Regions from separate parts of the Homo sapiens genome. Here all the other regions are linked to region 3. Evidence: promoter capture Hi-C in human tissues and cell types (Jung and others, 2019). All regions are on one chromosome and are shown on one strand. The core of a region is centred on a gene start or on the middle of the fragment in contact, and the rest is flanking DNA. Distances in the headings are between cores, read along the strand shown. Region 1 overlaps IL1RAPL1 (interleukin 1 receptor accessory protein like 1). Region 2 overlaps IL1RAPL1 (interleukin 1 receptor accessory protein like 1). Region 3 holds the start of IL1RAPL1 (interleukin 1 receptor accessory protein like 1).

Region 1 (4,197 bases), core at 569-3,068, 460 kb before region 3:
AATATTTAAGTATTTATTAATCACATACACACACACCCATGCACACAGCCTGCCGGAGATTGGAAAACTACCACATGTCAAATACATTACAGGCAATCTTGTCATTCATGAGAAAAATAATAAATGTACTAGCTAATCATGAAAAGCAATAGAGAATAAGAGGTCTTCTGGTAATATTAGTTCATTTCCACTGCTAAACTTCCACTGTGGGTGTTAACAAGTTTCAAGACTTATTTTGTTTTCATTGCCCCATTTTTAAAAAATCTATTACATGTGGATAACACCAAATGCCGCCCACCTAGCCCCCTAGCATTCGTTATGAAGATTAATAGAACAGTACTGGGCAGGATTTTCCATTACTCTGAAGAAATAAGATCTGCAAATACAAAAGAACATTATTAATGTGTATATGTCACGGGTTGGCTGGAAGAGTCTCTGTAACTGGCCACATATTAATCATTAGGGATTAAAAAAAACAGAGCAATGAGATCTTTATGTTGTTTTTTTTAACCTTATAATAGGAAAAATCATCATAAATATCTTTTTATTTATTTATTTATTTATTTGTTTAGAGACGGAGTCTCACTCTGTTGCCTAGGCTGGAGTGTAGTGGCGCGATCTTGGCTCACTGTAACCACCACCTCCCAGGTTCAAGTGATTCTCCTGCCTGAGCCTCCTGAGTATCTGGAATTATAGGCACCTGCAACCATACTCGGCTAATTTTGTATTTTTAGTAGAGGTGGGTTTCACCGTGTTGGCCAGGCTGGTTTTGAACTCCTGACCTCAAGTGATCCACCTGCCTTGGCCTCCCAAAGTGCTAGGATTACAGGCATAAGCCACCACGCCCAGCCCATAAATATGTTTTAAATGATTTCTGTAACAGAACTTCTAAGACCTTAAAAAAAAATTTCCTTCAAAGTTCCATCTGGTTGTTATTGTAATAAAAATCCTTTGTCTAATTCAGCTTATTCAATTGTCTCAACAGCCTTGCATTGCTATAACCCAGGGGAGCCGTCTGTCAGCAGACATATTCCAAGCTCCAGAAAAATAAAACTTAAAACATGATACCCTCTAAGCTCCCCTGAGATGAGTATCAGCTTGACAGCTTACAAGATGTCTGGGTTTGTTTCCTCCACTAACCCTGTCAGAAACCAAGGGGAGCTCGAAATTAAATAAATAAAAGCCCTATTAAGCCAAAGCACGTCACATTGAATAGTTAGTTTTATGGTCCCATTGGGTATCTTTACATTCACTTTCAATTTGCTATTATTCTTTTAATGGATTACAGGAGGGTTCAGATCCATAGATTAGCCAAGCCAATGAAGGTCATTGGCATTCTGACACAGTTGGGTGTTCATGAAATAAAGGAGAACGCATGGGATGAATTCATGATTCATGCCCAAATGAAGACATGCCATGTAGGGGGAAATATTTTTATAACAGTGGTAAGCTTTGACACCTCCATGCATGGATTCCAGTCAGGGCTTTAGACCCTTTATTAGACAGTGAAAAACGTTAAAAAGAACTGGTGGACTCGGAAAAAAAGTTAAGTGACTTTATGACGTGTCATTATTTCAAGACATAATTTGCTGGATTTAAGGCCCTGAAAAAAAAAGATCACATCTGGCCACACCCTTGGTAAGAGAGGTAGGTTACTCTGAATAGGAAGAAGAATGGATGAATTAAAAATGAGGATAGGGGATGGATTTTCAAAAGGGGGCAAATAAACTAGATTTCATGGATAAAGAGATCACAAACATAAAAAGATCTGAAGCCAATATAAGGTACTATGGCAGCCATAGAGAAATGTAAGTATTTCACACATCATCACAATGTTGGTGTCTTAGTCAAGGGTGTTATGTTGCTTGGTGAGCACCTCTGATTCCTTTTAATATCATGCCTCAGATGGAACTGCCTTAGGAAGAACAGGTGTGTGACAGCCATGAGAATATTTATATCAATTTTCCTAGTACAACCAGGACAGATGTGTGATCTAAGGCAATTTTTAGCTTTAAATTAAATGATTTGTAAGAAGTTTTTTCTTTTGTTTGGAATCAAAACATCAATTAAAAATCTATATACACTTTCCCTACATTTTCGTAGAAAGTCCAAGTAGTTATTAATTTTCTCCATGACTTATTACTATTGCTATCTATGGTAAAGTGAAAGCAAGTTTATTAGAGAAGTAAAGAAACAAAAGAATGTCTGCTCCATAGGCAGAGAGCCAATTTATTATTTTTATACATAACAGTAAGATAATCTGCAGAGAAATGTCCATTTTTATGTGTGTTCTGTAATATATACAAATCTAGAAAGGGAAAGGAGGAACGCTTTTGTCTTCTGTTGTTCTCCAATTCAATAAAACTTTTCCTACAAAAGATGAATAATATAATATAATTACGCTTACAATGAGGGCTGAAAATGTACAGGTCACTTTACTAGTTATTTTATATGCATGAGCTCATTACATCCTCAAACAGGTCTATTCATATGTTATATATGATAATCTGCTAATAGGGAGTTTAAGAGTCTTCCCCAAATTACAAAGTCATTGAACACACTTATATGTGCCTTCAAAGTCAATCTGAAAATGTCTTTAATGTTCCTTGGAGTCATTCTTACAACAGTTTCTAGTTCCAATGGGAACTAGAGAAGAGTGGGGCCTAGCCACAGTTAAAACTTTTATGTGTCCAACTAGTAGTTGTCTTCCTGAAGAAACAAGTGAAAGGAAATCTTTGAGAGGCACTGATGAGATACCAAGTTCCATTCAGTCTTAGTTACCAAATTCATTGGGCCTCTATGGAATAAGAACAATCTGGAATATCTAAATATAGTTGTTCTGCTCATGGCAGAAATAGGCATGTGGGCCTATGTTCTGAGCTCCAGCTAGTAGGGGTAAACTGGTAAAATGAAAATTGATATCTTTTGGGGGAAGAAGGAGAAGATGAAGCTCATGTTTTATCAGAGACACTACAAATTAGGTTTCATTTCTGATACTGTCCCAGGAAGACATTGTAAACTCGGGCTCATATTTGTTCTCATTTCCTTTCTCCCCCTCTTAGCTATTACTGCATAGAAGGAAAACTAGAAATCACTTGTTCCAGCTCATTGATTTTCGATAAGGAGGATATTATTATCTACTTTTTACAGATGAGATGACAGAATGTCCGTGCTTTAGTGAACAGCTCATTGTGACAACAATTATACTGTACTGGAAACATACTGTTATCATAAAACTGTCATCTTTTTGGCTGAACCTAAGTAGGTGTTCAGTAAATGTTTGTAGAAGAAATAAAGAACTAATACACGGTATATGGGTTATTAGAATTCCCATCATCTCAACTCCATCTTCTTTGTCATCATTTTCTCCTTCAGCACACTGTCACTTACTTATTGCCTAGTCTATACTGTTTCTGTCTTTGTTACCAGAAATGCAAATGAAGACAAACTGACAATGAATCTTGAAAGTACTTTAAAACAACACATCATCGTTTAACTGTAAAATTTTCTGCTCGGTTGCTTGTATAAATTGTATAAATTGAGATAAACTAGACTATAAGCTCCTTAGAGGCAGGATATCTTTCTCAAGTCTGTAAGCTGTATCAGTGGACCTAGCATGAGGTCCAGCAAATACTCATAAATAAAAGTTGGTGGCTACATGCAGACAAAGAGTACCAGATAGCAGCAATAAAGTTGAGAGTAAATTCCACCCCCCTGCCTGCAGATACGTCCCATGGGATCTCAGGGAAAGCAGATTAAGATTTGAGATAGGCTTCCAATGTTCTCTACATCATATGCCTTTTTATAAGTGAAAAGAATGAGTTTTTCCTTAATACTCAAGGGTGCAGACATTCACTGGGCTGCTTGAAGACAAACTCAGTAACAACATTTGCTAAAATATTTATGCTCTATGAGGAAACATGATAACACAGCTATCATTAAGAAGGATTCATACACTCTTGGTTAGAATTCAGTCCAAAACTCATTCCACTATAAAAGAGGACAATTCCTATTAAACTAGAAATGCTACACCAAATATAATATATTAGAAGAAAGGTAAAATGTCCTCTTTATTTTCACCATGTTTGTGCTTTCACACTAACCAATCATCTGCAACATCTACAGTTAGCAAATAAACCTGAAACAAAGAAGTCACTGGCATTTACTGACATGAGCCTGGTGGGGAAACTGTAGGTG
Region 2 (4,500 bases), core at 1,600-4,099, 510 kb before region 3:
AGAATGTATTCCAACACAGTGCTTCTCAAACTCTCAGGTGCACACCAGTGACCTCAGTAACTTTTTGAATTTCAGATTCTGACTCAAGGCCTAGGGTAGAGGCTGAGGTTTTGCATTTCTAACAAGTCCCTAGGTGATGTTGCAGCTGCTGGTCCAAGGACCACAAGTTGAGTATCCAAGCTCTAATATGAAACTTGGAAATGAAACATTTATTTCCAAATAAATACATTTTTCCAAATAAATATTATTTCCAAATAAATAAAATGATACATTATAATAATTGTAAAATGATGAATTGACACAAAAGGTGAACAGGGTAACCATGGAGGTCAATATGTGTTTAAACTACAGCAATAACAACAACAACAACAATTCAGGGGATGCAATGAGTAAGTAGAAGACACAAGACAGAAGAAAGGAAGTGTAAAAGGAGAGCAGTGGTAGTGGCATGGAATGGGGATGACTAACAGGACATCAAAAGGAATAGAGCAGATGTTTGGGAGAAACAGAGGAGACACTATAGAGGAAAAAAAGAAAGAAAGGAAAGATTAAAGAACTGTAGACATAACCCTCATCCATAGATAGTAATCTTCTCATCAAGCACCAGTTGGACAGTTGTGAAATTTCATTACGCCTTTCTAACAGCCTGTAATTAACGAGAAAATTGGTTCCCTTTCTAGTAAATTGGGTAAAGTGAATATAGAACTTTCAACTTTCATTTGACAAACTTTTATAAATCCATACATAGTTATATTCCACAACAAGAGCATATCCATTCTGCCCACGATCAAAAGAAGGGTCTGGAAGTCAGCAAGGTCATTTAAATCTAGTCCCTTCATCTTTAGCAGGTTTGCTTTGCCTATGACCAGATTTGTTAGGGTTTAAAAACAACATTAAGCCCATCACATCTGATTAGTCCAAAGACAATTGCACATAAGAGGTGGTGTATAATCAGTAAAGCCTGTGAGCATTGTGGGGTAAGAACTTAACTGAATCAAGTTATTTTTTTTTCAGTGTAGTTGATTGCTCTGTAATTAAATACCCAATAAAATATAGACCATCAAGGAAGAAATGGGTGTCACTGGTCTTAACTACTAGAAGGAGCAACACATATTCATATTTGATGGAAATGCATAAGGGGCTGAAAGCTTAAACAACTCCTTGGATACTTTGGGCAAATGAACAAATGGCCTTAATGGTAGTTTTTATACTGTTGTTTTCAAGTGGAGAAGCTTCAGTACTTGCTCTGCACCTTTGGAAAATAGACCTTGTCTCGTGTATGCTTTTAAGACACTCAAATGTGTCTATATTTCCAAGAGCATCTGAATCAGAACCTCTTTTTTCTTGGAGTTCCAAGAGTCCATCTAAAATCTCTATCAGCGTATAATTAACTGATAAAAGAAATGTTAAACAAAAGCAACTACAACACAAAAATTTGCCAGGTAGGGCAGGGTTACCTGATAGATTTTCTATTCCTCTTCTGTTTCCATGACACTCTTAGGAAATTTAGTGAACGTAAAAGAATGGTCAAAGTATGGGTGTTCCAGTACCTTCTAAGATTTAGGAGGAAGCTATAAAGTATATTACTTTTTGATTTCATAAATTAACATATCAATGTTGGATCTAAAGATGATCTTAGTGACTAAATTTATAGCTTAAATGATTTGTTTCAGATGTATGCTCCACTGAGACCTCTTGACGTGGAAATCACAGAATGAAAGGGTGTGCCCTCCATAAGTTCTTTAATTTTTAAAAAATTATTTTATTTTATTTTTGGCAGAGCCAATATTAGTCTAGGGTTCAGTCTTTCTCACCCTGGGAAACATTTCTACATGGTCTCTGAATGATTCCCAACAATTCTGTGATGACCAAGGTACGTGCTTTTTACTAAAATCTTAGTCCTATACCTCATGTAAAGGCCATTTTGGACCTCAAAGAAAATCAATTTCATCATAACATCTTGAAAAACTTTCTTCATACATATATTAAAATAAATATATATTTAATTTTTTTAAATTTCTTACATGTTTTTCCAGTTCAAATCATTTACTTTCTTCAAGGAAGTCTTTATTTCTGGGAAGAGATATTGTGAATACTAGGACCTAAATAGATTATTTTAAAACAAGCTGATCAAATTTCATTATGTAAGCACAAGTAATAACCACATTGGGTGAATACCCTGGGTTTCCATCTAAACAATGTTTTTTATAATTGGCAACTGACCTTACATTATAGGTATTTTCACTCATGGGACTGGCCAGTGTTTGAAAAAATAATCAGATAAAAATTAGATTCTGTACGAGTAAGCATTTTTATAATGAAATTATATTTACATTAATATACATAGACTAATTGTATAGCTATATTGGCTACAGCAATATTTCTCTTCAGGGAGAAGACTTACACAATTCTGTTGTAAGAACAATGGCTGTATTTGAAGCTGTTTAATTAAAGCATTTCTGGGGGTATTTTTTCCCCACTCTTAACAAATCCCTTACCAAGGCACAATTAGATAAAGCAACCACAGGACTAGTTTTTGGTAGGGTGCTGCACTGAACAGTATATTAAAAAGCATTGTCTGACATAACTTGAAATAGACTTGACTATTTTACGTGTGAGTCCTAAAAATGTTCATGGGGATTATCAAAGATAATTAAAAATTCAGAGTGTTGATACTCTTTAATGTAAGAGAGTTAGAGTTTGTGTTTATCAATCAATCCCATTTTAAAGTGGTATGAGCAAGGCATGTGAGGCATTTACTTTTCAAATAAACAACTGAACTTATCATATGTGTCCAGGATTTTTGGATTTTATTTGTATTGCCATTAAAAACAAAGCAAAAACTTCTTTCAAGGTACTAGCAAAAATACAACACATGGCCCTTAAATTCTTATCTCTAGGCAGCCCTCTTGAAAGATGGTAAAAAAAAAAAAAAAGGCAAATGCAGTATTGCCATGAATTCAAATTATATCAGGACATCTCATAGTATATAAAACCTATCCTTTTGAAAAGGTACCATTATTCCTTGAGAAAATCATAAGTGATAGCTGATTTATTTCTACCCAAAAGATTAAGGTCACCATGTTATACATGCAATGAACAGATAATCTTGCCAGAATTCTATTAACTTAAAATAGATAAATTTATTGAGTTTACCATGTGTCAGTCACTATGATACAGCATGGATTAATGGGCTTTGTTCATTTAGAGGATTCTCAAACCCTGAAGCCTAGGGAATATCTTGTGGACTGTTTGAGGTAAAGCTTGAACATTTGCAGTTTCAACAATCCTAAATATATTAGTAATTTGGGTATTAAGCTAGACCTCAAAGCCACTGAATTATAGCAATGTAAAACTATTAAGACAGAGCCCCTGAAGTTGCAGACTACCATCAAATGACTAATATAGTAAGAATTGCCTTCCACACCATCACTATAACTGTTCAGGTGAAGCCTAACAGGAAGGCAAAAACAACACCTTTCTAAAATTTAGAGCAAGAGAAATGATAAACAAGTCTATGAGAAAAAGAAATCAAAGAAAACATATCTGTCCTTTACATGGAAAATAGCATCATATTTTGTCAAAATATATGAATTTCCATATCTTGTTGGGGAAGCAAGAATACTTTGTCTATACTAAAAATAAAATAATAATATAATCCAAAAAGAGAAAGGACTTTAAGATACATGAATGTGAAATTCTCAACTAAAGTAAATTACTCCTAAAGTGAAAGCTATAAAAAAGAGATGGAATTCTCACTTAACTGAAATTAAAAATCAATGTAAATGGAGAAAGATATACACAAAAATCTTAAAAGTAGTTAATACCAGGCAGTGAGATCAGTAGTTGTTTTCTTTTTTTTTTTTTTTTTAGTTTTTAGGTGTGTTTTCTATTAAATAGATGTTTCTTTTTTTTTTTTTTTTTTTTTTTTTTTTTTGAGATGGAGTTTCACTCTTGTCACCAAGGCTGGAGTGCAGTGGTGCAATCTCAGCTCACTGCAACCTCCGCCTCCTGGGTTCAAGCCATTCCCCTGCCTCAGCCTCCCGAGTAGCTATGATTACAGGTACCTGCCACCATGCCCTGCCCGGCTGATTTTTTTTTTTTTTTTTTTTAAGTAGAGATAGAGTTTCATCATGTTGGCCAGGCTGGTCTCAAACTCCTGACCTCAGTTGATCCACCCACCTCAGCCTCCCAAAGTGCAGGGATTACAGGCGTGAGCCACCATGCCCAGCCAATAGATGTTTCTTTAAGTAAAACAAAAAATCTAGAAATTTAAAAGAAAACCAATATGTTATCAACTACGATACAACTAAAAATCCGCCTTATAACAATGCCATAGTGAATTGAAAGGCACTCATTGTAAATTTCAGAAATGCATTACATATTTTAACATTTTTAGAGAACTCATTTTCATCATATATTAAAATGGGCATATATACACAAAAATATATAAAATAGCTACATTTATATGGGAGTCAAACATATCCCAAGAGGCTTGTA
Region 3 (4,124 bases), core at 83-2,582:
AAAGCACTGTGGTGATATTTAAGATAATGTTGCCTTATTCTTCTCTATGTTAGCCATCATTTTTAGCTTTTTCTTTTCTTTTCCTTTTTTCACTCTGAGTGATAATCCAGTAGATAAAAAAGTAGCCCAGGGCGCTTAATAATCTCCAGTAACCACAACCTAGAGAACAATTAACGATGATTATCACCTTAAAGTTTAAGAACTTGACAAGTGGGATGTCCCTGGTCCCATTGCGGCTGTGAAATGCAGCAGAATGCTGCACTGAGTTGAAAACATATTTCTTTTAATGCATAGAGAGTAGCTCGTTTCATTTTAAATGGGGCTCTTCACTAAGTGTTTCTTTTACTGCTGCTACCCCTTCCAGAACGCAGGGGCCACAAATATTACATTCAAACAAAGAGTGTCTACCCAGAATTAATTCAAGACACTCTTCCATATCAAAATAATTGGGGGAGAGAGTGATACTTTGATTTTCAATTGCACTCAGAATACGGGCACACATACATATACACACACACGCACACACACATACACACACACACACACACACACACACACACACACACACACATATCAACACACCCAACTGCAGTTATTCCATTCAGTGCCAATAACGGCCACATCACAGCCATCAATGCGATGCAGCAATCATTCAAGTCACCCATTCCCATTACAAATGCCCAAGTTTGCTCATGCCACTGATGGGTTTGCATATATAAAATGACCTTACCCACAACAGTCTTCCAAATTATTCTCCTCTGGATATTAGTCGGTAAGGTAATTGCTGGTCATCACAATGCGTATTCAGAAAAATCCACGTTTTACTCCTGTGTTCTTTTTCTTGTTTTTGCTAGCAATTAATATTGTGAACAAGATTCCCATTCACAAATGCCAAGTTCACCATAAAAGCAGATAATTCCATACAGATCTTCCCTACAAGACTGTCTCCAGTTAGTTCTCAAAGTGCCCGATTGTTTGCTGAAGATACAATCCAGGTGCAGAGCAGGAAAAAAAAAAACAGACTAGGAGAAAAATGAAGAGGCAGATAGAAAAGGAGAGACTGAGAGAGGAGAGAGCAGAAAAAGAGAGGGGAAAATAAGAATAATTCTTAAAAAATAAGGAAGGAAAAAAGCCGATAAGTGAGAAGTCTGCGAGCTCTATGACAAGAATTGGAGTGTTGCTTGCAAATCTTCTGAGTACATGCAGCCTTTCAAATCCTCCTGGTCCCCAAGTAAAATTTCCAGATCCGGGATGCAGCCATAAGAAAGAATCCTATGTATATTTCACAAGTATCCCGCAATAACAGATCCGACGGGGTTTTCCTTGTACAGTACTGCTATGTGAAAGCACACAACCCCTGCTGTTTGGGAAGGTGTCTCCTGGGTCCTAGCTCTCCTCAGCAGCCCCCAAAAATGATTTTTCAAAAAAGAGTCGGGGGGGGGGGTGGGAAAAGCAGCTTTGCGTTTGCCTTGAATGATGCTAATCCTGAGCGAAAACCACAAGCAAAACACGAATAGCACGAGATCTTGATTAATAGCCACAATCCACTCAAAATATCCCAGGGAAGAAGGAGCGAAAACAAGAAAGAGAAACTGCAACGCATAAATGATTCCAGTGTTTCTACAAGATCGGTTCATTTGATTGAATGCATTCTCTGGTTTGCTGCAAGTCATAAAGAGGATAGTATTACTGCCACCCAATGGATATTTTAGTACTAGCCAATCCACAGACAGCCACCGCTTTGCGAGTTTGAGTTCTCAGAAGACCGAAGTGGAAGGAAGGTAGCCTGGGAATCTTTTGGAAAGGACCCTGGGAGGCTTCAAATAACGGAAATCTGTTCTTCCAGGCAAAAGCAGACTGGCAAATTTGGATGCTTATACAGTCTTGCCTTAGCCACCTTAGAATTATGGTTCCATTTCTCTAGGAAGCAGAAAGATACAGAGAGTGATGCCTAAGCCGACACACTCTTGATAACCTCCTTTTCATCTCTTCTCTTTGAAGCAGATTTATTATTGCGCGCGACCCTCCCACCCCCATCACTGTCTCCCCAACGCCCCCATTCTCCGTATCACTTTAAGATGGATTACAAGAGAGAAGGGGTGCGGGGGCTGCTCCAAACAAACCTCAGGTGCTAAGATGATAATTGTTTCTAAAGGGCAGTTTTGCAAAAGTGCCTCTGTCTGTATTGATATGCAAACTGTGAGTCCTTCAAGCAGTAACCCTCCTCACAGCCGCGCTTTCAGTTTGGGGGAGGAGCAAAATCTTCCCTAAGTGAGTGGGGCTTGGGAGAAGGGTGCCTGTGGAAGGCTCTCTGGGAGTGCGGGGTGGGGGTGGGGAGTGGGAGGAGGAGCGGAGGGGAGGGTATTGAAGAGGATCCTCCTCCCATCCACCGCGTAATTGAGTTCCCTGCAAAAGAGTTCGCTGCTGGTTTCTGAGATGAATTTGTGATGAAGAAAGAGGGTCAAAGTAGGTACGGGTAAATACATTAGGTTATTTGCTCAATTTAAGGTCCTTGACCATTTACATTGGGATAGTATAACACTCACATGTGATTCCGTGATTCTCAAACTTTGATGTACACACCGTCACCTGGGTGTCTTGTTAAAATGCAGATTCGGATTCGGTACATCTGGAGTGAGGCCTGAGACCCTGCGTTTCTAATAAGCTCGCCCGTGGCCCATAATAATGTTGCTGGGCTGTGGACCACATTTGGAGTAGCAAGACCCTTAAAAAATGTTAATGTTTACACTGCAGCAACAGTGTCAGTTTCCGGCAGCTGAGTAGGCTGGATGATTAAAAGGCAGCGAGCCGCTTTTCTAGTTACTTCTCTCCCTCTCCCCACCCTGCAACCTTTCCCATTCAACACCGGCAGCCCATGTACTTAAAAACCTTAACCCATTTTGTAATGTATCCCACAAGCTTTTGTAATGGCAGGCTTAACCGGATAAACCAAAAATAGAATAAATAGGTAAAGTAGCCTTGGCCCTTCAGAACTGTTTTAATTTGGGGAGTAAAACACGCATCAAGATAAAGAAAACACTTTAAAAATTAGGTAAAATGTGAGCTAAACGAATACAAACTAAGCGCGCAGGTGAGAATAACAGCAGGCAGGGAGACTAGACAGGGAGGTAAAACTGTATTTCGAAAAAAGGAGCAGTACACTGAAATTTCCAACCTAAGCAGAGGGAAAATGTGGTTAAAGTCGGTAGGCAAGTCTTACAAGGTTTCTTTGAAGCTAACTCACCCATGTTCACATCTTCTGTGCCAGTGTTTTTCTTCCCTCTGCTTCTTCCCCACATGCTATAATTCAGCCTAAACTGAAGATTAGAAGTGAAGAGGAAATATATTCCCCTCCTTTCAACGTGAGTGATCTAGATTTTCTATACCTTCCATCACAGTCCTCTAGTTGACCCAGTTGAATGTGAATAGACCTCAAGCAGACCTGGAGGGGGGCACAAGTAACAAGTGTAAATGTAATTGCTTCAAGCAAAATTTAAAAGTAAACGTCTTGACCGTAGGCTCCAATCCTAGATTTGAGTCTAAATTCTACTCCTAAGTAGCCATAATTACCCAAGGGAATCACTTTAATTTCTCTTGGCCTCAGTTTCCTTGTCTATAAAATGACAGGTTGAAATTAACCAGTTGCCAACGTGCTGTCCAGCTCCATATGGTACAAAAATCACGTCCTCTCTTTGAAATGTTCTGCAAGTCAGTTTGTTACTGTACACAGAGAAGGAGTTATGATTATTACCTTGACATGGGCTGCAGAGAGCATCTAGAAGCTTTGAAAAGCATCTCGAGGACACAGGTGAACATTTGACCACTTCAATCCTATTTCAAGAGATGATTTAAAGTGCTTTCATTTCAAATGAAATGATCAGATCCAGGAAAGGAAGTGTTTGTTTGAATCTGAGGTGAAGCATTGTCTATTCCTGGATCCTACAGAGCCAACTGTGGGCCTCGCTGTTTGTTGCCATGGGATCCTCTTTGTGCGAACTATCTTGAACTGTGTGGGAACATTTTCCTCTTGCCTCCCTTCAGTTCTCTAACTCTTCTGAAGATATGTGTCAGAACAAAATGTAGCTGCATTATTGCCAATTAAGACTAACGGCAGCTGCAAGGTG

The links. Contacts are between HindIII fragments. The study calls those that stand out against the background at their distance.
Region 1: a contact is called between a fragment that was not itself captured here and the fragment with the promoter of IL1RAPL1 in region 3, in 1 of the 25 tissues and cell types used here (hippocampus).
Region 2: a contact is called between a fragment that was not itself captured here and the fragment with the promoter of IL1RAPL1 in region 3, in 1 of the 25 tissues and cell types used here (hippocampus).

What each region holds. Positions count from the first base shown.
Region 1 is chrX:29,040,804-29,045,000 of GRCh38, reverse strand. The region is part of intron 2 of IL1RAPL1 (interleukin 1 receptor accessory protein like 1); the gene reads right to left. Among named protein-coding and RNA genes, the nearest start is that of IL1RAPL1, 460 kb to the right of the region's middle. The HindIII fragment of the contact is 6,360 bases long and covers 1-4,197 here.
Region 2 is chrX:29,094,209-29,098,708 of GRCh38, reverse strand. The region is part of intron 2 of IL1RAPL1 (interleukin 1 receptor accessory protein like 1); the gene reads right to left. Among named protein-coding and RNA genes, the nearest start is that of MIR4666B, 480 kb to the left of the region's middle. The HindIII fragment of the contact is 3,318 bases long and covers 1,191-4,500 here.
Region 3 is chrX:28,584,654-28,588,777 of GRCh38, reverse strand. IL1RAPL1 (interleukin 1 receptor accessory protein like 1) reads right to left here and starts at 1,332. Exons shown (of 11, transcript NM_014271.4): 1 at 731-1,332. The HindIII fragment of the contact is 4,831 bases long and covers 1-3,351 here.